4 separate regions of the Homo sapiens genome follow, and regions 1, 2 and 3 are each linked to region 4. Evidence: promoter capture Hi-C in 16 types of primary human blood cells and fetal thymus (Javierre and others, 2016). All regions are on one chromosome and are shown on one strand. Each heading gives the region's core, a stretch centred on a gene start or on the middle of the fragment in contact. The rest is flanking DNA. Distances are from core to core; before and after follow the strand shown.

Region 1 (7,420 bases), core at 700-3,199, 270 kb after region 4:
TCAGCTTCTGCATCTATAAAACGAGTGGGCTGGAACACATTGATCTCAAGCGCCAGCTCCAGCTCTCTAGAACTGGAAGGATGCAGGTGCTCAGGCTCCGCAGCTCAGCCGGTGGGAATCCTATCTGTGGGCACCATCGACCACTGGCTTTTGTGGGCACTTGCTGGGGATTTTGCCAAAGGTCCCTGTGCCAGCAGGTGTCTGTGTGCTCAATGACTAGCATCTTGCACTAATCCTTGCTTCTTCCTGTTCCTTTGTTTAAATGTGGAACATACGTTGGGCTTGGCAGCAGATGAACCCAGCTGCCCTTCAAGAGGATCTATCTATGGTGGGTAGATTAAAGGAGGCCTCTCAAGTAGCCCAGCTGGGGAGGGAGACAAAAGCCAGAAGTCCATAAAGAAGCCATTCCCTTAGTCACCAAATGTATACTGAGCAGCACCGATGTGCTGACCACCTGGCCACATCAGACACTGCCCCCACCTTTATCATGAGATGAAGAAGAAAGAAAATGATCCTTCTCCGCAGAGTGAATAACATTCTGCAGGAATGTACAAGTAACAGCATTTTTATTTGAATGAAGAGATCAAGGGAAGCTTCCCAAGAAAGTAACAGCTGATCTGAGGCCCAGTGGGTGACATCACAGAATGTCACTGGACACAGAAGTGAGAGGAGGGCACACTCCATGCACAGGGATGGAATCAGCAAAGGAATCGGGGGCCCATCTCTTCAGGAGCAGATGAGTACAGCAGTTAGGTTGAGACCAGACTGTAGAGGGGTGTGGGATGTTTGAAAAGGAGGGTAAGGAGATAACCTTGATCCTGGGGCTTTAGAGAGCCACCGAAGTTTTTTCAGCAGGGGAGTGACAAGCTCAGATTTAAGCTTTAGAAAGATCCCATGGGTTGTTGTCAGTGTGGGGCTGAGATGGAATAGGAGAGACAGGAGGCAGAGACTGTCTGCAAGACCAAGAGAACACAGAGGCAGAAGCTATGCCAACTATCAGAACACATTTGTACATCAACGCACACACCCTAGGCTATAAGGTAGGGGAAGAAGCCAAGCGGAGTGAGTCAGAGATAGGAAATGAGGTCTGAGAAGGACTCGGCAAAAGAGAAACTCACCTTAGAAGACAAATCTGTCAAGGTAGGAAGAGAGCGAAAAGGGACTTCTCAGAAGCCCCATGAATGAGCCTCGTAATTGGAAGAGACCACAAGTGATAAATCGCCACACATCAGAGGAGGCAGGGGCCTTCAAGACTGAGAAATTCTTCATCTCCACTGTGCGGGTGGGGAAATCAAGGTCCAAAAACCATAAAGGACTTGCTGGATCCCCTGGCAAGCCTAGTCTACAATCAGGAGCTCCCACCTCCAAATTCTACAGTTCGCTCCCTCTCCCACATTTTGCCAGGTTAGTGTGTGGCCCCAACTTGCCAGGAAAAAGAATCAGAGCTGTAGAAAACACAGGAAGGTGCCTGGACTCCTAGCTCCTGTGAGAGCCAAATCTAAAGGCCAGAGATCAGAGGTAGGTGGGCCACGGTGGTATCAGGGGCTGTTCCGCCACTCAGAGTCCAGTGAGCACACAGCTAGGACAGGGGCCCTGATGGTGGAAAGAAAAGAGGGAGAAGGGGATATTTTGAAACAAAAGTTAGCAGGATCAGGTGACTGGGGCTCCAGGGTGAAAGAAAGCAAGAGCCTGGGCATGGACAAGCTCTGGCGATGTGGGACACACGTGGGATGATATTATCGTAAATGAACAAGGCCTGGTAGGAGGTGACCCCAAAGTGAGGGCACTAGCAGGATGAAGGGGGCAAAAGACAGAAGGATCTAGCCTGGAGTGAAATTATGAGCTTGGCTTGGACAGGCTGAGTTTGAAGTGATAGTGGGGCACCGATGGTGAATATCTTTGAGCCCTTACTCTATCACGTATCATGGGCACAGGGTATTTATGATATCTCCTTTAGCCTCCCAAGAGCTCCTTTGGAAGACATTATTCTTACCCCTACTGGACAGATGAGGAAACAAAGGAACAGAGCTATAAATAAATTTGTCCAAGGTTCCCAGCTTGCAAATTTCCAAGCCAGGCTGCAAACCCAGGTCGGTCTCACTGTGTTGCCTTCCATCACTAAGGAGCGAAAGAGAGGAGGTCATTGAAGAAGTCAAACCAGGTGAACACTGGAAAGTAGAGAGGAGAGAGAGAAAAGTGAGAGTACGGCAAACCCTGAGCAAGATGAAGAGTCCAGAGTGGAGTCACAGAGGGGCAGAGAGAGGTGGAGGGAGAATCAATAGAGTCTTTGTTACAGGAGCCGAAGTTGGAGAAAGTGTTCAAGCCAATGTCAAGGTGAGTCTTGAAGTCAATCCAAAGTGTCTTATGTGGTGAAGATGTAGTGATCACCATGAAACACAGAAGAACCTTGGGTAATGAGGAATCCCAGTGTTTCAGGGGCCCAGGCTGCCTGGAAGACTTAGAAGGGGCAGTTAGAGTGCAGAAGACAGTCTGGTTGGGGCAAGGTTAAAACAACCAATTCCGGCCAGGCGCAGTGGCTCACGCCTGTAATCTCAGCACTCTGGGGGGCCAAGGCAGGTGGATCACTTGAGGTCAGGAGTTCAAGACCAGCCTGGCCAATATGGTGAAACCCCATCTCTACTGAAAATACAAAAATTAGCCATGCACACCTAATGGGAGCTACTTGGGAGGCTGAGGCACGAGAATTGCTTGAACCCGGGAGGTGAAGGTTGCAGTGAGCCCAGATCATACCACTGCACTCCAGCCTGGGCGACAGAGCAAGACTCCATGTCGAAAAAAAAAAAAAAGAAAAAAGGAAAAAAAAGAAAGAAAAATCAATCCTGTGAGGACGTATCAGGAAACACACCCTGGAAAGAAAAACAGACAAACTGGACTTCAGCAAACTTAAAAATGTTTGTGCTTCAAAGGACACTATCAAGAAAGTTAAAAAGCCATGAAATGGGGGAAAAATGTTTTGCAAATCAGGTCTACAGTGGTTCATAATATTTAAGAAGCTTTAAAAACTAAACAATAAAAAACAAATACCCCAGTTACAAAGTGGACAAAGGATGTGAAGAAATAGACATTTCTCCAAAGAAGATATATAAATTGCCAATAAGCACATAAAAATTACTCAATGTTATTAGTCATTAGAAAACTGCAGGCTGGGTACAGTGGCTCATGTCTGCAATCCCAGCACTTTGGGAGGCCAAGGCAGGAGGATCTCTTGAGCTCAGGAGTTCAAGACCAGCCTGGGCAGCATAGTGAAACCCTGTCTTTACAAAAAAAATTTTTTAATTAGCCAGGCATGGTGGCACACACCTATAGTCCCAGTTACTTGGGAGGCCGAGGCAGGAGGATTGCTGGAGCCCAGGTGTTTGAGGCTGCAGTGAGCCATGATTGTGCCACTGCACTCCAGCCTGAGTGACAGAGCAAGACCTTGTCTCAAAAAAAAAAAAAAAAAAGCAAAAAAAAAGCAAATCAAAACCACAATGATATATTACTTCACACCCACTAGGATGGTTATAACCAGAAAACTATAACAAGTGTTGCTGAGGACACAGAAAAAGTGAAACTCTTATATAGGCAGATCCCCAAAAAGTTAACTACAGAGTTACCATATGACCCAGATTTTTTTTTTTTTTTTTTTTTTTTAAGACAGCATCTAGCCCTGTTGCCCAGGCTGGAGTGCAATGGCGCCATCTTGGCTCACTGCAACCTCTGCCTCCTGGGTTCAAATGATTCTCCTGCCTCAGCCTCCCAAGTAGCTGGGATTACAGGCACCTGCCACCACGCCCAGCTAATTTTTGTATTTTCAGTAGAGACAGGGTTTCACCATGTTGGCCAGCTGGTCTCCAACTCCTGACATAATCCGCCTGCCTTGGCCTCCCAAAGTGCTGAGATTACAGGTGTGAGCCACCATGCCTAGCCATGACCCAGACATTTTATTCCTAGGTATATACCCAAGAAAAGTGAAAACACATGCTGAAATAAAAACTTTTACACTAATGTTCACAGCAACATTATTAATAACAGCCAAGAAGTTGAAAGAATCTAAATGTATATCAACTGATGAATGGATACACAAAATGTGGTATATCCATACAATGCAATATTATTTGGCCATAAAAAGCAATGAAGCACTAACATATGCTACGACATAGATGAACCTTGAAAATATTATGCTACAGGAAAGAAGCCCGATAAAAAAGGCATCATATTATATAATTCCATTCACATGAAATGTCCAAAATAGGCAAGTCCATAAAGACAGAAATAAAATAGAGACAGCAACTAAATTAGTGGCCAGGCACAGTGGCTCATGCCTATAATCTCAGCACTTTGAGAGGCCAAGGCAGGCAGATCACTTGAGGTCAGGAGTTTGAGATCAGTCTGGCCAACCTGGCAAAACACCATCTCTACTAAAAATACAAAAATTAGCTGGGCGTGGTGGCAGGTGCCTGTAATCCCAGCTACTTGGGAGGCTGAGACAGGAGAATTGCTTCAACCTGGGAGGTAGAGGTTGCAGTGAGCCGAGATCATACCACCGTACTCCAGCCTGGGTGACAGAATGAGACTCTGTCTCAAAAAAAAAAGAAATTATTTGTTGCTAGGGGCTGGAGGGAGAGAGGAATGGGTAGTGACTGCTTAAAAGGTATGTCATTTCCTTTTGGGGCGATGGACATGTTCTGGAATTAAATAGTGGTGATAGTTGCACAACCCTGTGAGCATACTCAAAACCACTGAATTGTATACTTTATATGGCGAATTTTACGGCAGGTCAATTTTATCTCAAGAAAAGAGAGACAGAAAGCAGGTAGAAGTTTCCCAAGAAAATCTTGAGTGGTTGTTTAATCCCTCAGGGAACATCAGAGAACCCATTTAGGCTATCGAAAAGAAAAAAAACACATTTTATTCAACTGTTAAATTCTTTTGAACTTATTACTCTGAGGGCTAGCTTATGTTGCATTTTTTACTACCTTTTTATAAAGTTATACATTAATAATAGCTGGATTTATAGAGAAATGTCTGAAAGATTATCTGAAATGTAAACAGTGGCTGCCTCTGGGAGATAGTATCTTGTGTGATTTTAAATTTATTCTTTATGCTTTTGTGTATCATTTACATTTTCTTTATGCATATTTATCAACTTTATAATCAATAAAATTCATAAAGCTCTTTTTGTTTTTGAATATATATATATATATATATATATATAAAAAAATTGGATATGTTGAAAAAATGTTAATAGATAACTTTTAAAATTCTTTCAACTTACATGAAACCAATGTCATTTTGGTAGTTGCTCCCAAGGTGGAAAAACTGTCCAATTAGCCAAGTGATCACAATTCAGTTATTTTCTGAACACTGAACAAGGAGCTGTGTAAGATAGAAGGATGTTTAGGGCATGGTTCCTGCATTCAAGGGTCTTTTGATGTAGTAAAGGACCTCAGATGTGTAAATAAATAACTGAAAGCAAGGCAGAACATGAAAGTCTAGAACAGAGGCACCTGTAAGATGCCGCAGAATCCCTGAGGACACTGTGATTCTCCACTGAAGGATTCAAAATGGCAGGTCTGCTGCAGAGCTTGCCTTGAGGCTGAGTCAGATTTCATTGTGTGGATGGCAGGAGGGACAGGCAAGAGCCAAGGCCAAAGGGGAGGCATTTCCAAGCCCTCCCACCCTTCCTGTCCCTGTCCACCTCCACACTCCATGCCCTAACCTTCCGGAGCTGCTGATTCTCCTGGGCACAGGCCTGGTCTTACACCTTCACCTTGCTGCGCACGTGGAATGCACATTCCTCCTTCATCACCTAGCTCACTCCTTCTGTTCCCTCCAAGACTGGGGTCCCTGTCACTCTTTCAGGAGGCCTCCTTGACTGAAGAGGTTGAGTTCAAAGCCTCCCGCCCAGGTTCTGACAACACACTGAGTCGCCAACACTGGTGCACTCTACCCCCTGCACTTGAATGATCTGTTTGGGCATTTGTTTCCTCCATCAGATTGTGAGCTCCATTGAAGAAAGGCTGGAGCCTGGCACAGAAGGTTGGTGCCCAGTAAGTGCTTAACTAATGGCACATGCACTGTGGCTAGGATGTGCAGAGCAGGAACGTAGCCACAGCTCTGTCTGACCGATACACTCCCCTCCTCCCTCCTCCTTCTCCTCCCCCTCCCACCTTCTCCTCCTCCTCCTTCTTTCCTCCTCCTACTGTTCTTCTTCTTGATTTTTTTTTTTAGAGACACTGTATCACTCTATCAACCAGGATGGAGTGCAATGATGTGATAATAGCTCACTGCAACCTCCAACTCCTGGGCTTGAGTGACCCTCTTACCTCAACCTCCTGAGTAGCTAGGACTACAGGCGCATGCCACCACACCTGCCTGGTTTTTTGTTTGTTTGTTTGTTTGTTTTTGTTTTGGTAGAGAGAGGATCTCAGTATGTTGCCCAGGCTGATCTTGAACTCCTGGCCTCAAGCGATCTTCCCATCACAGCCTCCCAAAGTGCTGGGATTATAGATGGGAGCCACCGTGCCTACTCCTTCTCCTCCCTTCTTCTAAGAGTCTATTCCGCCGTCCTCCTGACCACAGAGTCAGGCCAGTGATGCTGGCTAGGTCAGTTACAACTCCCCAGCCCCCAGATTTAGTAACCGGTCCAGGGCTGCACTGACCCAATCCAGGCTAACCAGTGTCCCTCCTCTAGAGCAGCAGGGAGAAAACACTTTCCTTGATGAGGAGTTAGACTGATGAGGGCCACATTCCTACTATGTAGAGAAAACCTGTCTTCAGGAGAGAATGAGGCCATTACACAAGACAAGCAGAAACGGGGAGATGACAGTTGCTCATGGTTTTGGAGACCCTAGTTTCAGTCTCAGAGGTCCCCAGAGCTGGGCTGGTTCAGGCAGGCCTTTCTCCAATTCTGTGTCCTATGCCAGGACCTGTCAGTAAATATCCCTGTGAGTATAAGCTAGGGAGCTTGGGTCACTTATAAAAAGAACATCGCTTTCCAGTGCTGGAGTCCTCGGTACAATGTACATCTGGAAATGTCAGCTGAGGCCAGGCTGGGGAAGACTCTAAATGCTGTCCTTGGGGGTTTAGAGTCTATATTGCAGGTGCAGTTAAAGCCTCATGACAGAACACCAGCAACATGTGAGTTTCAAATCAGAGGGGAGGCAAGACTGGAAGCCAGTTGGAAATGCAAAATAAAACCACCTCCATATATCACAGAGTTCAAGGAGAAAGAAGATTGAATAAAACTCTGATTTTGTTATGTAGGAAAGAGCAGCAGGGCTTGTGATGAATGGGGAAGTAAAGGAGAAAGGTGATCATGTCGAATAAATAGTCATTTCAGAAACACAGCCAACAGCTCTGTGTGCAAACATTAGTCACTCATACAAATGGGATCTCAGGGGTTTTATAAACAAGC
Region 2 (6,850 bases), core at 1,069-3,568, 340 kb after region 4:
TACCCTGTATTGCTTGCTCATGATCTTCAGGTACCTTTTGAGACTTAAATATTTTGACTCCATCTTGCCCTGACAGTGTTTAGGTCTCATCAGTGATTATGATAATGATGATGAAGGCCTGTCTTTATAAAATGACAACTTTCTTCTGCAGATACCCATGCGCTTATTACACATTCAACTCCTGACATCTGAGGAAAGTAACTAGGTATTAACTAGGGCTTCATCTTTACCCACCACAGCAGAATGCCAAACCTGCTGTGGTGTGTGGGATGTGGCCAAGACAGCCTTGTCTTGCCTCTGGTGGAGTCGGCATCCTCCTCTGATACCGGAGGCTGGGCTGTCTAGGTGTATTTGAGGCAATCACGGTGGTCTGCCCTGCCCATGTGGCTTGAGCCAAGCGAGTGTTTCAGTTTTCACAGAGTGGGTGTAGCGTTCAGTCATCCAACCATATTCCAGCACTGGGCTGAGTCCTATGGAACAATCAGAGACAGTTAAGCCTGGGTGCTCTAGCTGAGAGCCCAGGAGTGGGTATTGGAGAGGGAGGAATTCATTGCCAGCATAGGCAGGCAGGTAAATGACTCCCTGAGCAGACAAGAGAAGCATTTGGGCGAGGTGGGTATGGCTGGTGGGAGAGTTCAGAATGGGTAGGATTTGAAGGTGTGGCCTGTGTGGGCCACACGATTTTGGTCACTCAAATTTTTTAACACCTGCAAAAAGTTCAGGTCACCAGGTTCTTCCTCTGCACCCCACCGTTTTCGGCCCACCATCAACCCAGGTGTCCCGTGTCTTCAATCAGTGAGAGATTTTTTTCCAGACCACTATAGCCTGTTTCTCTTTTTCTGGTTCATGCTGGTGTTAGGAAAATCCATCCTGCAGTGTTTGCTGTGAGGTTGATGACATAAACAAATTGGTATTAAAGGAAAAGATTAAGTCGTGGAGTGTTCATGGGGAATAAATCCAGGAAAAATGCAGATTTCTGAACACTGCCGAACATGACTGTGGTTCTAAGAGGCTGAAGGTGTCTGCCTAACTCACATCACGTCACTGAACCCAGGACCAGTCCTGGCAGCACAGTAAAATTACCTGCATAGCATTTTACAAATTTCAGTTTCCTAGGCTCCCATCCCAGATTAATTAATTTCTGGAGATACAGCCAGGGCATCAGTATTTTTTGAAGATCCCAGATGATTGTGATCTGCAGCCAAGGTAGAAAGCTGCTATCCTTGACCTTTGGTGTCCCAGAGAGCTGGGGATCACCCCATCCAACTCTCTTCCATCCATGCTGAAAACTTCCAATGTTGAGATTTGTTACCTTTTGTCCGGCCACCTTTGCACAGCTGGGGTTGACTTTTTTTTTATTTTAAATGTTTACTCTAGCTTTTTGAGCACCTGGTATTCACAGGAACTCGTTGGTTGAACTCTTTTTCTTTGTAGATTCTACTACTGTCTTGGTTTGACTCTCTGAGGTCAAGTAGAACCAGTCTAACCTTGCTTCTCTCATATAAGGACCCTCAGATGTGCGATTGTATCTTCAAAGGCAGAGAGAAGCTGCAGGCTATAACACTGCCCACAGAGCCAGATTCCCAGCCAGGACCCCAGCTGCTAAGGGCAAGGACCCTTTGATGTCACAACTGTGGAGGTCTTGATGGAGCCCAAGTCTAGGAGCTTCCTGTGGGCATGAAGTAATAGGCTAGAGCAGGTTCCCGGTGGGTGAGTTGAGGTTGGCACTGAGGTGTTAACTGTGCAGGCATGTGACTGGATGGGGAACAAGGTCAGATTCCCAGGTGGATTTGGGGAGTCTCAGCAAAGGAGCTGTCAGGAGTGGATTCCAGAGGAGTAGGTAGCAAGTGGAGCAGAGGTTGCGTGGCTGAAAGCAGTGTGATGTCAGGGTTGGGCATTCCCTGTCCTGCTTCTTGGCCCCTTGTGGGGGCTAGCTGACAAGGTCATACACCACAGGAGCCCAGGGCTGTTGCTCCAGACACAGCAGAACCCAAGTGTGTCCCACTGTGGTGGCATGAAACACTCACTGGCTTTAGGGTCGGAAGTCCAGAGCTCAAATCCTAGCCCTGGTGCTTGGAAGCTTAGTAACTTGGGACAAGTGATAAAATTCTCTGGGCCTGGAATGCCCCATCTTCTATGTAGGTAGAATAGTAACAGATGGTGTTTCCTGACCATTCACTCTGTGTCACCATAGGTAACACTTTCAGTACTTGATCCTTAACTGTGTGTCTTTGAGGTGTTGCTGTGAGAATCCCCATTTTACAGATGGTAAGGCATTTGGGAGATGAGGTTCTGGGGAAGTACATTGGGTCGTTGTGAGGATTAAATAAAATCATTTGTTGAAATGGCTGAGCACAATGCCTAGCATTTAGGAAGAGCTTTATGAATGTTTTATATTATTTTGGCCTGTGTGTCTTGGGCCTCAGTCCAGCTTTGAACTTTGGGCTTTCTATAGCCACAGTAAAGTCAGTGGGGTTGCCCTGTCTGGGCTGATGATGTGGTCCTCAGAGAGTGAACCTATCCTTATCTTGGTGGGTCTGCTTACGGTTAAGCTTTACCTGGGATCACCACTCTGTTCTAAGAGCTTGAGGTATGTTAGCTCACTGATTCCCACAACACCCCATAGGAGGCAAGTTCTATTAAGAGTCCCATTCTGGCTGGGTGTGGTGGCTCACACCTGTAATCCCAGCACTTTGGGAGACTGGGGTGGGCGGATCACGAGGTCAGGAGATGTAGACCATCCTGGCTAACATGGTGAAACCCCATCTCTACTGAAAATACAAAAAATTAGCTGGGCGTGGTGGCAAGCGCCTGTAGTCCCAGCTACTCAGGAGGCTGAGGCAGGAGAATTGCTTGAACCCGGGAGGTGGAGGTTGCAGTGAGCTGAGATCGCACCACTGTACTCCAGCCTCGGTAACAGAGAGTGACTCCATCTCAAAAAAAAAAAGAGTCTGATTTTGCAGATGGAGAAACTGAGGCAAACAAGTTTGTATCTTATCGTAGATGACACTGCTAGTAGTGGGTAGAGCTGGAGCTGGGGTTCCAGCCAGGCAGTCAGTCTATGTTACACAGATGCAAGGGACAGTGACGGGTCAGCTCTGTGTCAGCTGATGGCCATTTATCAGCTGAATAGGTCTCTACTGTCATAGAAACCACAGGTCTCTACTGTCGATAAAGTGTCTAGTTTGGGCCAGGTACTCCCCATAGGCACATTCTCAGGACAATGCTGCCAAAGGGGCATCAAGGAAAGCTTCATGGAGGAGGCAGCATGGGAGCTGGGCCTTCATGCATAAGGAGGATCTGGATATTTAGAGATTGGTGGATGTGAGGAGGACATCCCGGGAGAGGGGCCCTCTGAATGGTCCCTAGTAGATGATGGAGGAGAAGCCAGGTGTGGGAAGGCCTTCAGGGCCAGGCCACAGTTTGGTCTTTATTCTGTGGGTAAAGAAAGGTAGTGGAGGGAGTGAGTGAAAGGGTCAGCCTCATGCTTTAGGGACACCTGTATGTCTGTAGCCTGAGGGGATAGTTAGAAAGGAGTGGGGGTGGGGAGGCTCTAAGCTGGGCATGGAGGTGGGGACCCAGTTAGGAGGACATGGAATGCTTTAGGCAGAGGCACCAAGGGCCTCAAATACTGCAACTGACTGCTCAGGCAGCTCTCAGATGACACTGGGCAATCGAGAGAAATTGACCGAGCGCTTGTCAGGAGGATAGATTTTTCTGTCAATAGCCGAAACGTCCTCTGTGGGAGTTTGTGAGTTACTCAGTCCATCAGAGCATTTGTCCACATTCTGTCAGAGCCGGACGGAACATGTGCTGGGGTCACGGAGTCTGAGCCGGGAATGGCTCTGCTGGTTGGAGAGTTGGGCGGAGGAGGCCTTGTACAAGTCAGACTGCTTGTTTCTGCTGAAACATGGAGCAGGAAAGGACAGAGCTACCAAGCAGCCCATCCATGAGGAAAGACGTGGGGGACTAAGGAGATGGGGAGGGGGCTGTGTGTGTTCTGGGGGTGGACAGAGCTAGTCACCTGCCCTTGAGATGGAGCTCTCCCATCTGATGGCAGCACCTCGTGGAGTTAGAGACATTCCAGGATGTCCAGGCAAATGATGGCAGTTAGAAAGAAGCCATGTAAAGTTGCTGGTGTCGTAGTTGAAGTCTTCAGAAGACAGCAGTGCAAGAAGGGAAAGGGAAAACCAGGGCTCTGAGCCAACGCGGGATGCTGATCTTCAGAGGACGTCCTTGCAGGGAGAAGCTCTTCGAAAAACAGTAAGTGCTCAGCCTCCTTTAGGTCCCCAGAGGGAAAGAAATGTTAGCCACGATGAAGATGTTTGCTGGGCTCAGTCAAAGAGCCCCTTGAAGATCCCTGGACAATTCCTTACACATTCACCACTCCATCAGAGGGCCACTCTGACCGGCAGAGCTCGCTTTACAGGCTCAGAAGAAACGCTTTGTAAAGATCTAGGAATAATGTTGCCATCAGTCAGCTCCTGCTTGCCGGGCTTCTGTGGGGCTCTGGATCATCTGAAAGCCATCTGTGGTGTGACTGTGAAGTGACGAGATGGTGGGAGTTGGTGTCATCACTTCCTCATCACCCACAGGACAGCTGAGAACGCTGTCACAGCCTGGATGATATTCCCAGGCCTTGGGCCTGAAGGTTGTCAAAGTGCAGACACTCAACCCGGGCATGCTTTGAGGTCTCGCCTACTTGCCCTTTGTCCCTCTGCCTTGAATTTTTTTTTTTTTTTTTTTTTTTTAGACGGAGTCTCACTCTGTCACCAGGTTGGAGTGCAGTGTCGCGATCTTGGCTCACTGCAACCTCTGACTCCCTGGTTCAGGCGATTCTCCTGCCTCAGCCTCCCGAGTAGCTGAGATTACAGGCATGCGCCACCATGCCCAGCTAAATTTTTGTTATTTTTTAGTAGAGACAGGGTTTCACCATGTTGGCCAGGATGGTCGCGATCTCCTGACCTCGTGATCTGCCCGCCTCGCCTTCCAAAGTGCTGGGATTACAGGCATGAGCCACCCTGCCTGGCCTGCCTTGAATTTTGTGTGCAACTTCGACTCAGATTCTTTGTCACCTGCAAACTAGGGTAGAAGTGGGCCTGGTTTTGAAAAGGCAGAGAAACTTTTCTTTATCCAGGCAAACTGTTTTGAGGAATCCTTACAGATGATTAGACTTGAAGCCTCCAGTGGGAGCAAAAATTGTGACAATTCAGAGGATGCTAAATAAGCAGTTTGTAGTAAAAGATTGTAGTCAGTGGTTGAGGAGTGAAGGCACGTTCTTTTTTGTGTGTTTTCTCCCATCACCCCCAAATTAGAAATCTCTCTTTTTTTTTGTATCTGCCTGGCCTTTTTGGGAATGATTATCCTTGAAAATATCTTACCCTTTGCTTTTGATGGTTTCTTCTGATTACATCTGTTTTCTACAGACTAGCAGACACTTAAGAGTATTGGATTTCTTAACATTCGGCAGCTTCTAGTTCCATATATATTCAAGCATTTCTTACTCTGAAAGTAAATTTCAGTTGTATACATTCATTCATTTTGAGAGTCATTTTATGCTTGGACATTTCTGACGACCACCTTCATAGTTATGGGGAAGGGACTTTAGATCTGTGAAGGGTACTGAAACAAAACATATATTTTGTTCATACGTTCTTGTGTCTTCCCAGACTTTTCTTTAAAAAAAAATCCCAAAAAGGGAAATCAGGGCTTCCCTTGCAGAAGGAGGCCTGGCTGCCTTAAAATATCCATATATTTGAATTTCAAAGGTAGGTTTGAATGTGAAATCTAAGGTAACCTTGCATTCATAGTCTAAATTCAGAGTGAGCAAATTAGATTGTCATTATTAAGTCTATTCCTTAGACTTAATTGGGGCATGGCATTTTCTGCCGCTTAGTTCTTTAGTGGTAAAAGGGAACCTTTCCCATTGCTGAATAAAAGACTACTTGAGCCCTTTTGCTGAAGGACTGTGACATTTCCCTGCATTGGTTCTGGGGTTGGATGGTCAAGACATTGACAGGTGGATTTAAGATTACAGGGTGAGACTTGGGGACCATAGCAAGCTGTGTTTCAGATCATCATGCATTCAATTTTTAAATGTTGGCTGGGCGCAGTGGCTTACGCCTGTAATCCCAGCACTTTGGGAGGCCAAGACAGGAGGATCACTTGAGGTCAGGAGTTCGAGACCAACCTGACCAACATGGTGAAACCTCGTCTTTACAAAAATTAGCCGGGTGTGGTGGCACATGCCTGTAATCCCAGCTACTTGGTAGGTTGAGGCAGGAGAATCACTTGAATCCGGGAGGCGGAGGTTGCAGTGAGCCAAGATTGCACCACTGCACTCCAGCCTGGGCAACAAGAGCAAGACTCTGTCTCCAAAAAAAAAAAAAAAAGTACCCATGGTACCTGCTGAAATACTGGCCTGCCTAGGGGCCTATGAGGGAAGCAGTGTGGGCCAGTGTTAGTGCCCAGGGTTAGTCTGGGTTCAGGGTCAGACTGTGACTGTGGGCAAGTCACTTGACCTCTCTGAGCCTGTTTCCTTTTTTTTTTTTTTTTTGCTTTGTTTTTTGTTTGTTTGTTTTTTTGAGACTGAGTCTTGCTGTGTTGCCCAGGCTGGAGTGCAGTGGTGCGATAGCTCACTGCAACCTCTGCCTCCTGGGTTCAAGCGATTCTTCTGTCTCAGCCTCCCAAGTAGCTGGGATTACAGGCGCGCCTCACCGCACCCAGCCAATTTTTGCATTCTTTTAGTAGAGATGGGCTTTTGCCATGTTGGCTAGGCTGGTTTCAAACTCCTGACCTCAGGGGATCTGCCCACCTCAGCCTCCCAAAGTGCTGGGATTACAGGCATGAG
Region 3 (6,914 bases), core at 3,533-6,032, 280 kb after region 4:
ACTATCCCCAGTGTGCCTCCCTCAGTCGCTCTGCCTCATTAGCCTATTAGTCCACACCACAGCACTCCATATTCATCATTTATTATTTGCTTCTCTGTTATCTTTCTTCCCACCCTAGAAGGTAAACCCCATGAGAACAGAGACTTTGCCTGTCTTGTTCACTGTTAGCATAGGGTGGACACTCAATACATGCTTTTTGAATGATGAATAAAGGCAATGTTCTCTCAAAGTTTGTTGTCATTTGGAATTCAATATTTTCTAATATTTTCTTCTATTCCCTGCAATATATCTCTGAGAGAGACAGTTCCTCTGGTTGGTCCTCTGATTAGGAACTTTTGAATCACATGAAAGATATATGATGATATTTTTCTGTCCATGCTTCATTAGGGGTTTTGGATAGCACACTAGCCTGATAATGGGATATTCAGATCCCCTATTGGAATGGTTCAGGCCAAGAAAAATAACTACTATCCTACTGGCCACATTAGTAGCTTGAGAGGCACCAGGAGAGACTGGTGCCCAACAGAGGCCTCGCCCTCCTGGCTGAATGACTCATTTTCCCTACTCATGGATGCAGATTAACATGGGCTGCCGACCGTGTCCCTGCCCGTGGTAGGCTCAAGCCATGCTTTGCTTTGCAAGCTGTTGAGGCCAAATGTGATCAGGGAGGAAGGGCTCATCTTGGGTGTTAGGCAGGAGGCTCTGCTGGATATTTTCGAGACAGTTTTTTCTTTTTTTTATTATTTATTTATTTTGAGACAGAGTCTCATCCTGTCACCCAGGCTAAAGTGCAGTGGCATGATCTCAGCTCCCCGCAACCTCACCTCCCAGGTTCAAGCAATTCTCCTGCCTCAGCCTCCCAAGTAGTTGGGATTACAGGCATGTGCCACCACACCCGGCTAATTTTTGTATTTTTTAGTGGAGATGAGGTTTCACCACATTGATCAGGCTGGTCTCGAACTCCTGACCTCAGGTGATTGCCTGCCTCGGTCTCCCAAAGTGTTGAGATTACAGGCGTGAGCCACCATGCCCGGTCAAGACAGTTTTTTCTTAGCCAGTATTGGCCCTTTCCTCAACCCAGACTTCCATACAATTTCTCATGCAAATGTCTTCATTTCTCAGGCACATAGATGACACCTACTTAGATTGTTTCCATTCTTTTCACTAACACCCACAATACTCCCTTCTGTACACATCCTTGTGCACACATTTTTGCACTTTTTTTTTTTTTTATTACTGATCCCTGTGGAGCAGGGCTAACTCATAGGCAGTGTACCCAGAGTCAGCACATTTTTGCATTCTTCTCTGTTTACTTCCTCAAATACATTCTTAGAAGTAAAATTATGGAGCTGGGTGCAGAGGCTCATGCCTATAATCCCGGCACTTTGGGAGGCAAAAGTGGGAGAATCACTTGAGCCCAGGAGAATCACAAGACCAGACTGAGCAACATAGTGAGAACTCATGTCTACTTAAAAAAATTATCCAGGCATGGTGGCATGTGCCTGTGGTCCCAGCTACTCAGGAGGCTGAGGCAGGAGGATCACCTAAGCCCAGGAGATTGAAGCTGTAGTGAGCCATTATCACACCACTGCATTCCAGCTCCAGGCGACAGAGCAACATCCTGTCTCCAAAAGAAAAAAAAAAAGTAAAATTATTGAGTTAAAGAGTATTCATTACAATTTGAGACATATGACCAAATTGACCTCCAAAAAGGGTAAACCACTTTATGCTTTATCCAGTAGTATACCAAGTCCTGTTTTTGAAGTCATGTTCCAAAAACTTTTTATTCCCAAATCCCACCTCACCATATTTCATTTCTCAGAGAGAAGATGAAAGTAGACTCCCCGTCTCACTGGAGAAATTTGCTGTAGAAATCCATCCTTTAAGAGAAAAGCACTGGTGTTGGCTGGGACGGGTCCTCACCTCCTGAGGTCGTTCTGGGGCAAACAGAACTGGTATCTCAGACAGACACTCTCCTTCCAGGTGGAAGTGCTCTGAGCCGTGGCTGCTGTAAGTGCTTAAGACAGCAGAGAAGAAGTTACCCGTGACATGACACAGCCTTGGTGCAATTCCTAAACATTCCTGACACCTCCACAGAGCTGCCTGGAAAGGAACCATGCCAGCAGCAAACTGTTCTCTCAGTGCCCTTCCTCACCTCCCCATTCCCGCACTTTGCTGGTCGAAGTCAGACTCATCTTTAGTCAAAGAAAGGCATTCTTCAGCAACAGCATTGTCTTCCATCAAAATGGCAAAGATTTAAAAATGAAAATAGTGGTGGTGGGTGGCAGTGAGATAGAGGAGCTCCTACAATGTGAGTGGGAACATAATGGGCCAGTAAATACCCAAGGCCATAGAAATGTTCACACTCTTCGACCCAGCAGTTCCACTCCTCAGATTCTGCCCTAAGGGAATACCCAGATGCCACCACAGGTTTTATGTACTTCAATGCTCATTTCAGCATTATTCATAGTAGCAACCAATTTGGAAACTACCAAAATATCTGATAATGAAGTGATTACACAAACCCAAAGTACTGAATATTAAACAGCCATCAAATATTGTATTTTTAAAGAACATGTAATGGCCTAGGCAAAGACCCTTGACGTGTGAAATGAAAGATGAAAGTGCTGCCGAATTGTCTATATACAATGACTTCAATGTTGTTAAACATAGATACGAAGCCTGGAAGGATACTCCCTCAAATGTTTACTGTCGTTGCTCTGGATTAAGGATAGTTATAATTATCTTCTTTGTCCTTTTTTTTCTCAAATTTTCTTTTAGGCGCATATATTTTTAAGTTGGAAAAACGTATTAAAAATAAACAGTCCTATCACATCTCAAGGCTCAGCTTAAATTATACTTTTCCCTGGAAACTCTCCCACACGGGAATGACAAGCATTACAAAGATGTGGCCATTAACACGACAAGTTCCTGTAACTGTCAGACCTGGTCCTTGAACCCTGGCCCCTTGCGCTTCTTCTGTGGCATGCATCTCAGCCTTGCTTGAGTTTCTTAATCAAGTGTCTGCCCCACCAGCTGCCCTCTCTTCAGCCTGTCCTCCAGACAAGGACCAGAAGAGCAGGGACGAGTCTTTTTTTTCTGTTTTTCAGAAAAAAAGTGAATGTTTATCAAATTTGGTGAATATGATAAATCAGATTGTCCAGAGAATAAGAAATTCTAATTGTATGCAGAAAATCTAAGTCAGTGGAGCTCATATTCCAAGGTAAAGGGATGCCAAGATTAGGGGAGCTCACACCTGTAATCCCAGCACTTTGGGAGGCCAAGGCAGGAGGATCACTTTAGCCCAGGAGTTTGAGGCTGCAGTGCGCTATAATCATGCTGTTGCATTCCAACCTGGGTGACAGAGCAAAATCCTGTCTCAAAAAAAAGGGGGGGGTGGGGGTGGAGGGGGGAATGCCAAGATTAAGATCAAGACCTCTGCTTCTGAGTATAGCCAAGAGAAAGAGCTCAGCCAGGCCCTCAACATCAGTGCCAGCAACAGCCCCTCTTGCTCACCACATTTTACACACACTTGCTTTCTTGCTTGGTCTCTGGGTCATGGCAATCTCCTTCCAACCTCAGGGCCTTCACGCCTGTTCCCTTTGCATGGAAGCTTAGCCCCCTTCTAGCTGGGCATCTACTTATTCTCTGTCAAGTTTCAGCTCCATAATGGGCTGGTTAGGTCCCTCCCCATAGCTCTATTCTCTTCCTTGTACCATTACCACAATTGTCATTCTGCATTTGTGTGAACATTTGTTTTACGCCCACCTCTCCTGCTTCACTGTAATCTCCAGAAAACCAGGTCTGTCTTGTTTATGGCCGGTACCCGGCACCAGCCGCAGAGCTTGGCATAACCGTGGGCTGAATAAATGAGGTGAGATCAATTACATGGAAAGGACCTAATGCTTAGTAGGTATTTTTCCACCATTTTTCCCCTTCCTCAGATCTCAGAGCTGATCCACCTCCCTGTGTTCAAGCTGATGATCTGATTGTGGCATCAGACTTTTAGAGCTGACCGAAGCCAAGAGAGGCTACGTGGCAGCACTTAGCTCAGCCTGCTTTGCTGGGGCTGTTTATGGAGGGAAAGCACAGGATTCATTTGGCTCTAATCAGGTTAGGATCAGAGCACAGGGACTAGGAAAGGAATGCTGGGCGTAAGATCCAGACCATGTGACTGGGGTGACCTGGGCACAGTCATGGGGAGGCCACACTAGCAGAGTCAGGTTTTCACACTGTAGCCCAGCTGGGGTACACAGCTTGTTTGCAGTAGAGTAGGGCCCAAAGCCCAGGCTCCTGACTCCTGGCACAGTGCTCCAAAGAGCCAACACATGGTGTTGGAAACAATCCCAGGCTGGGCTCTGTTTTCCCACTGCCCAAATCTCTTCCAGGGAGCAGGTCTTGGTATGGCAGAAGGGAGTGGATAAAGCCTTTTCTACAACTCTTTATCACCAGGGCAGGAGATCCAGAGCTGCTGCTACCTTGGGTCCAGCTCAGTGCAATGACAATATTCCTTACATCTTTACACTGCTTTGTTATCTCCAAAGCATTGTCACTTTTGTTTTTCAGCCTCACAGTAATCCTGTGAGGATAGGCAAGCAGCTGATTAACCTCTTATCACGCATGAGAAAACAGAGGCCCAGAGGGGCGTGTCAACTTGCCCAGACCTTCATAGCTGGTCAGTGGAAGAGCCAAGCCCGGAAGCCAGGCCTCCTGACTCCCAGTCCAGAGTTGGTTCAGTATTTTTCACACACAACTGTGACACTCAAATCCGTGTGGTTTCTTGTAGCACTTTCTAGTCTGTGGCATCTCAGCACTGTTGAGGATTAGACGAACAGCCAGGGGAGGAGATGATGGGGTGATGGCTGTGCTGGCATGGCCTCCCCATGGCTTTGGCTGTGGCTGGGCCCCAGTTTCCGCCACCCTAGTCATGTGGTCCGGATCTCGGGGTTCAATGTTTGTGTCCTAGCCTCTCTGCTCTGATCCTGACTCTGATGAAAGGCAAAACAGATCCTGTGCTCTTCCTCCATAAATAGCCCCAGCAAAGCAGGTAAGACAGCCATGAGAAAGCCTAGGGAGTGTTTTTGACGCAGTTGGAACCAGGGGTTACTGGTACTGAAGAGGAAATGCACTTTCTGGTTAAGAAGACTTTGGACTGTGAAACAAAGACAGAGAAAGAGAGTTCAGAACCACTTAAGAGTCTGATACAGGGCTCATTAAGAACGAAGAATGATACTGGGAAAAGCCCAGCTTGGGGGTTGAGTTCTGACCTCCAGTCTGGTTTTCATGCTGTAACCTTAAGGAAGTCATTATGCGTCTTTGGGCCCTTTTTTTTTTTTTTCTTCTCCTTTTGAGACAAAGTCTCACTCTGTCACCCAGGATAGAGTGCAGTGGCACAATCTTGGCTCACTGCAACCTCCACCTTCCGGGTTCAAGTGATTCTCCCGCTCAGCCTTCTGAGTAGCTGAGATTATAGGCATGCACCACCATGCCTGGCTAATTTTTGTATTTTTAGTAGAGATGGGGTTTCTCCATGTTGACCAGGCTGGTCTTGAACTCCTGACCTCAAGTGATCCACCTGCCTCGGCCTCCCAAAGTGCTGGGATTACAGGTGTGAGCCACTGCACCCGGCCAAAACTGTGAGGGAGGCAGGGAGCCCATCACCCTCCTGGTGGTGGCCGGTCCCCTGCCCCGTCTTTGGGCTTTAATTTCCTTCTTTGTAAAATCGCAAGGGGAAAGGAAGGAATCAAGATATCAAGTGTCCGATTTTCCCACTTTGTCCTGACTGACCTGCACATTCTGTGACAGTGTCCATACATACATTACATGAATGATCACTTGGTAAAAAAATCCAAAGAAAGTAAGTCTTTGTTATATGGGACACCCTAAAATATAGTGTTTACGAGCTCCTTCTCTCTCAGGAGCCAGCCTCCCTGGGTTCAAATCCAAGCTTGCCACTTATTAGCTATGTGACCTTGGGCAAGTTACTAAACCCCTCTGTGTTTCAGTTTCCTCATACTCAATACAAGAATAATATTTGTACCATTGCATAGGGCTGTTATGGATCAAAGAACTTAAGAGAACTATAAGGCACTTAGGATAGAGCCTGACATATGGTAAACACTCATTAAATGTGACTCATCGTTACCTAGCAAAAGCTGATACTCTCCATTCCACTTAAACGAAATTGAATGATAACTGAAGATTTCCCTTGGCTAAAATATTTAAAACTATAATTATTTCAGATATAAACTAAGAAGTATAATCATTTTGAAGGTAAATCTTTCTAAAACACACCATAAAATGTCTTTTGTTTTGTTTTTTGAGACAGAGTCTGGCTCTGTTGCCCAAGCTAGAGTGCAGTGGTGCAATCTCAGCTCACTGCAACCTCTGCCTCCCGGGTTCAAGCGATCCTCCTACCTCAGCCTCCCAAGTAGCTGGGACTACAGATGCATGGCTGGCTAATTTTTGTATTTGTTATTAGAGACGGGGTTTTGCCATGTTGGCCAGGCTCGTCTGGAGCTCCTGACCTCAGGTGATCCGCCCACCTCAGCCTCCCAAAGTGCTGGGATTACAGGCATGAGCCACCAGGCTCAGCCTAAACAGTATCTATAAATTATTATTCTTTTCCTCCTCCCCTGACTTAGGCTCAACAAGAATGGGAGCCCCCTGAAGGCAGAGGTCTCTATCTCTACCTTTCCAGTTGGCAGGAGTACCTGGCACAAAATGAGTACCAATACGCTTTTGCTTAGGAAATGAAGGGAGGACAGTCACAGGCATTAGGCTCTAGGATGCTTTATGGAGATGACACTCTTGGAGGTTGATAGGGGATATTGAGCTAAAGGACCCAGACAAGGGTCCTTTAGTGCCTGAGTTTTAAAGTTTTCTCACCTCTGTCTTTCCAACTACCATTATGA
Region 4 (4,851 bases), core at 1,666-4,165:
GACTGTAAGAGCTGTGAGGGCCCTGATGAACTCTCTGGGCCAACTCCATCACGTCCCGCCTATCCTCAGCTCACTCCCTCACCTCTGCTGGGTCTCAAAAGCCACTGTCTCAGCAAGGCCTTCCCTGACCACCCTTTAAAAAATTGCAACCCTTCCCACCCCAACACTCTCTATCCCCGCTACCCTGCTTTACTCCTTCTCTATCTCACATCCCAAATACTATCTTTACAGGCTTATATGTTTGTCTGTCTCCCCCCAGTAAAATGCAAGCTCCATGAGCACAGGAACTTATTTTTCTGTTCCATTCACTGCTACGTCCCCGAGCCTAGAGGTATGCCTGCTACAGAGCAGCGGCTCAACACACAGTACTGAATGATACACTGAGAAAACACTGAAATTGCCACAAAGGCTGTCTAAGAATTGACCTAAGACTTGAGTAGAAATCAAAGGGACTTGGAGATGGTTGTTCTCTGAGAGGGACTTGCTTCATTTCACCTCTGTGCCTCAGTTCCCCCATATGTGAAATGCCTCATGGGGTTATGTTGAATGATGTCTTGCATATAAAAACCCTGGCAAGCTCCACTCAGGACATCAGAACTGGCCGTGCCTCAGAAATTGACCTAGCCCAGCATCCCCCAACCACAGGTCTCAGCATCCCTTTTCAGCTTTCCCAGAGGTGCAGCAAGTCAGGAGGCAGCTGAGAAGAAAAGCTACAACTCTGAAGAGTGTAGACTTCGTTAAAACAACTACTGTTATAAAACTTAAACGGCATATAATACATATTAAATGAAAATTAAACAGAGTGTAGTGTTCCCAGATTAGTTGAAGCAGTTATTCTTCAGTCAGAATTTGAATCTCTCTGCCTTTGATGTCTCATGAGTCTTGCTCCGCCCAGCGGTAAAATGGAATTGCACCTGCCTGTCCCTTCACCCCCAGCCTCTCACCCTCCACCCCTGGGCAGGGAGAGGAACAAAAAACTCAATCAGGAAAGCAAGGCTCCATGTAGGTCCCCGGCCCCATAAAAATCAATGTGATGGGCGTGGTGGCTTACGCTGGTAACGCTTTGGTAGGCCGAAGTGGAAGGACTGCTTGAGGCCAGGAGTTTGAGACCAGCCTGAGCACATAGCAAGAACCGTGTCTCTACAAAAAAACAAAAATAAATTTGCCGAGCATAGTGGTGCATGCCTGTAGTTCTAGCTGCTTGGGAGGCTGAGGTGGGGGCAATCACCTGAGCCCAGGAGGTTGAGGCTGCAGTGAGCCATGATTGTGCCACTGCACTCCAGCCTGGGTAACAGAACAAGACTGTATCTAAAAAAAATAATAATAATCAATGCTGACCAAGAAAGTTTCCCTTCCCCTTGCGGGTGTTAGGAATAATGCTCAAAATCCTAAGGAAATTGAACACTCGAACACAGGATTCTTAGCAAAGCAATTTTACTTCTGCGCAGAGGGATGCCTCCTTGGCCAGTTGCCATGAGAGCACACCTGAACAAAGGGGCACGAGAGCCTTTATTCCTGATGCAAGTCCTGCCCCTGTACCCTTTCCCCATTGGCTGGGGTCAGGTCGTACAATCTAAACTAATCCCGGTTGGCTAAACATTTGATTTATTTTAGATAGAGTGGGCACGTAAAAGAAAGTGGAGAGAAAGGGGAAAGGGTGTCTGTAATGAGCTAGAAAGTTAGTCTTCTTTCCAAATAAGCAAAGGAATGTGAGCTGGTACTGATAACGCTTGGTACTGTGGCATGCCTGGGCATCTAACAAAGGCAAAAAGGAGAAAAATGAAAAAAAAAAAGGGGGGGATACTAAGAATTAAAGAATAAAAGATTGATCAGATTATTTGAAGAGAAACCTCATCATATCCCACAGGGGGAAGCTGAGTCAGCAGATCTGCCAGGGGTGCCCAGGGTTCCATTTAGCTCAGGACTTTGCCATATGCTGGGACACAGCCCCCTTGCCACCAACAGGCCTGGCTCTGAGGGTGAGGAGACCAAAAGGAGGTAGGGGAAAGGGGAGTCACCAACCCATGGGGTAAGGATTGGAGGGGTGAAGCAGTCAGGAGAGGTGGTCATAGGCCAAGGCTGGCAAACCTTTGCAGCCACACCAAGGCCGTTCCTACTCTTGGGGCCTATATGGGGTTCTTGCTGGGGCCTCCACTTGCTGATAGGAAGATCACAGCTCACAGAGCATCATGCTTTACAGTTTGCAGGCTGTCTTCTCACGGGAAATTTGCCAAGCCTCTCTGCAGTCCCTGGGTGGTCAGGGTTGATGATGACCCCCATTCTGGAAGAAGGCTGGGCATCAGAGAGGTTCAGGGACTCACCGAGGACACACAGCAAGAAAGTATAGGAGCCTCACCCCAGACTTCCACAAACCTAGCTTTGCATATCCTCCTGAATACAGGCAATTTTTTACAGTTCACCCACAGCGGGAAGGACCGGACCTTCTCTATCCGCGGGAACTGCAGCGGCGCCCACCTCACCCCTTCTGCGGGGGAAAGGGCGCAACCTTTGGGCTTGTCCAAGCCTCTGGGCTATGGTCAGGGGCCCTCTGTTGAAGTGGGCCGAGTGGGCAGGAGTGTTGAGGTCGAGCTAACGTGGTAAGGTCTGGGGGCGTCTGTGTCCTCGGGGCTCCTGTAGCGTCACCCAGAGGCGGGGGATGGGATTAGGGGACGTGGAGAGAGTCCTACAGTGCAACGGCGGAAAGGCCAGCCCCCAGATGCGGACGCCGCGGCCCAGAGAGGAAAGCCCCCACGCGGAGCCAGGAGCTGCGGCTTCCCGAGGGAGCCGAGGGGAGACCAGCGTTAGTTACCTGCAGCAGGCTCGGGCTCCGGTTCAGGATCACGCTTGGGTTCTGGTTCCGGCCCTCCCAGCTCTGTCCACATGGCCGCCCAGGGCTGGCCGCAGGTCCCGCCTCCGCGCAGCCCGGGGCTCAGCGGCCAATGAGGCTCCGCCTGCGCCTGGGGCGCTGCCTACGTCCTGTCGCCGGCCAAGGCCGCTCCTCCCTCGCCCCGCCCGGTCTTTCCCGGTCCCCGCCCCTCTACCCCCGGCAGCCCGCACCGCTTCAGCGCTCCCTCCCTCGGGTCTCCGCAAGCCCAGTGTCCACGTTGCTCAGATCTAGGCTCCTAAGGCACTGGTTTGGGAGCGGAAACAGAGATACCCAGAGAGGGGCAGGGGCTTCCCCAGGTCACACAGCAAAGTTTTCGGAGACCGAACCCCAACTACACTTTGCATTTCTCCCCGCTGCAAGACGCTGCTTAATCGACTGCCATCCTTGAGACTCCCCTTAACCCCTTCTCTGCCTCGCCTCTCCCTCACTTTTTTTGTCCAGGATTCACTAATTTCTGTCCTCCACTTTCACTGCTCCTTTCTTCAGTTCCTTCAAGAAGATTTTATATTTGGGCATTTTTCAAAGTACATTTTTGTCCTAAGGACAAAAAGAATGTATGCACAGTGTAGAAAGCTTGGAAAACACAGGAAAGGATGAAAAAAGAAGAAAAATATCACCTGTAATCTCTTCACCTACGGTAGCCATTATTACGGTGTTCGTCCTGCTAGTATTGTTTCCTCTGCATCTTTCAAAATTATTTTAATAAAAATAAAATCATATAGTAACCTCTGTTGTGCTGCTTTAAAAAAAATTTAAAAACTTAGCGCTGTATTTTGAAGTTTTCTCCTATCACTAATTACAGATGACATCATCCTCTCCAAGGTGGCATAGAATTCTGTTGTAGGGGTAAACTGTTGGACATTTAATTGTCTCCATTTTGTTGCTATAAAGGTTGCCAAGATGGACCACTGAACATGCATCTCACTCGCTCCACCCTCGCTGCACCTTCCTTCTGGCTAGGGAGGTCCCAAAGCTAACCGCCATGTTTCCCAGCCTCATTTGCAGTTAGAGTTCTGGATGTGGACTAGGTGCTGCCAATTAGTAGTACTCTGCCGGATGTGGAAGGCGGGCACGCATTGGAGGGTATTGTCCTGCCCCTGTAGGGTGGCACTAGCAGGATAGCAGAAATGGGAGATGTTCTGCGGCAGCATTCCTTGTCCCTTCTCCAGCTTTCTGGCTGTGGACCGGCCGCTGTGGCTGTAGCCGCTCCTTGACCTGGCTTCCTGCTCTTTGAATGGAGGCTGCAGGAGGGTGTCTGAAGTAGCCTCAGACAGGCACGAGGCTGGTGGGCCACGTCCATATTGTCCTGAGAGTTGGTCCTGGTCTGGCTAAGGCTTGCTTCTGCCTCCGGCACTTGCAGCAGGTCTGTAAGCACCCAGTTCCTTGTATTAAATCCCTGCCTCTCCACTGATCTAGGGTGCTCACATGCGACTGCTTGGACCTAATTCACTTAGTTCTTTCCTTAAGCTACATCTCTATGGAATCTTTTGCTACCATATCATCCTTAGCATGTTCACAGCCCTTGCTGCAAAAGTTAGCCATCCATGAAGGCACTATGATTGGCATCTTATCACCTTGATGCCCATGCTTTCCTCGGGTTTCTCCAGCAACGGCATGAGCCCCTTGCCAAGGCCCTCCTGCCTCCCCCACAGCACGTGGACAGCCTAGCTCCCCTTGGGCACTTGGCATAGCACTCCAGGACTGATTGACTTAATGATTAACTGACCAATCCTTAAGAGGCCTCATTGATAGAGGGAGTGAGTTTATGGCAAAATGAGTATCAGTCCTCGTGTTAGAGTGCATTGGAAACTGTGGCAGGTCTGAGAGGCCAGCTGCAGACAGGAAGTGACCCCCATGCGGCAAGGTTGGAGGCTGTGCCCCTTGAGGAGCAGCTGAAGGAACTGGGATGTTCACCCTTTAGAACTTGAAAGACAAGGCTGTGCCGTCCAAATCTCTGAAGGGCA

What was found. The method cuts DNA at HindIII sites, captures the fragments that hold promoters and counts their contacts. A CHiCAGO score of 5 or more calls a contact.
Region 1: a fragment that was not itself captured here is called in contact with the fragment with the promoter of ALDH1B1 in region 4 in 1 of 17 cell types (naive CD4 T cells); the score reaches 6.1 in naive CD4 T cells.
Region 2: a contact is called between a fragment that was not itself captured here and the fragment with the promoter of ALDH1B1 in region 4, in 4 of 17 cell types (non-activated CD4 T cells, naive CD4 T cells, naive B cells and 1 more). The highest score is 7.2, in non-activated CD4 T cells.
Region 3: a contact is called between a fragment that was not itself captured here and the fragment with the promoter of ALDH1B1 in region 4, in 4 of 17 cell types (total CD8 T cells, naive CD4 T cells, megakaryocytes and 1 more). The highest score is 6.3, in total CD8 T cells.

What each region holds. Positions count from the first base shown.
Region 1 is chr9:38,119,707-38,127,126 of GRCh38, reverse strand. No RefSeq gene overlaps it. Among named protein-coding and RNA genes, the nearest start is that of SHB, 54 kb to the right of the region's middle. The HindIII fragment of the contact is 2,135 bases long and covers 882-3,016 here.
Region 2 is chr9:38,049,342-38,056,191 of GRCh38, reverse strand. All of the region lies in intron 1 of SHB (SH2 domain containing adaptor protein B), which reads left to right. Among named protein-coding and RNA genes, the nearest start is that of SHB, 16 kb to the left of the region's middle. RefSeq lists an enhancer at 6,269-6,850. The HindIII fragment of the contact is 472 bases long and covers 2,083-2,554 here.
Region 3 is chr9:38,105,868-38,112,781 of GRCh38, reverse strand. No RefSeq gene overlaps it. Among named protein-coding and RNA genes, the nearest start is that of SHB, 40 kb to the right of the region's middle. RefSeq lists an enhancer at 4,792-4,971. The HindIII fragment of the contact is 2,334 bases long and covers 3,616-5,949 here.
Region 4 is chr9:38,390,766-38,395,616 of GRCh38, reverse strand. It overlaps ALDH1B1 (aldehyde dehydrogenase 1 family member B1), which reads right to left and starts at 2,915. Exons shown (of 2, transcript NM_000692.5): 1 at 2,810-2,915. RefSeq lists enhancers at 2,439-2,528, 2,569-2,618 and a silencer at 2,829-3,148. The HindIII fragment of the contact is 5,526 bases long and covers 1-3,462 here.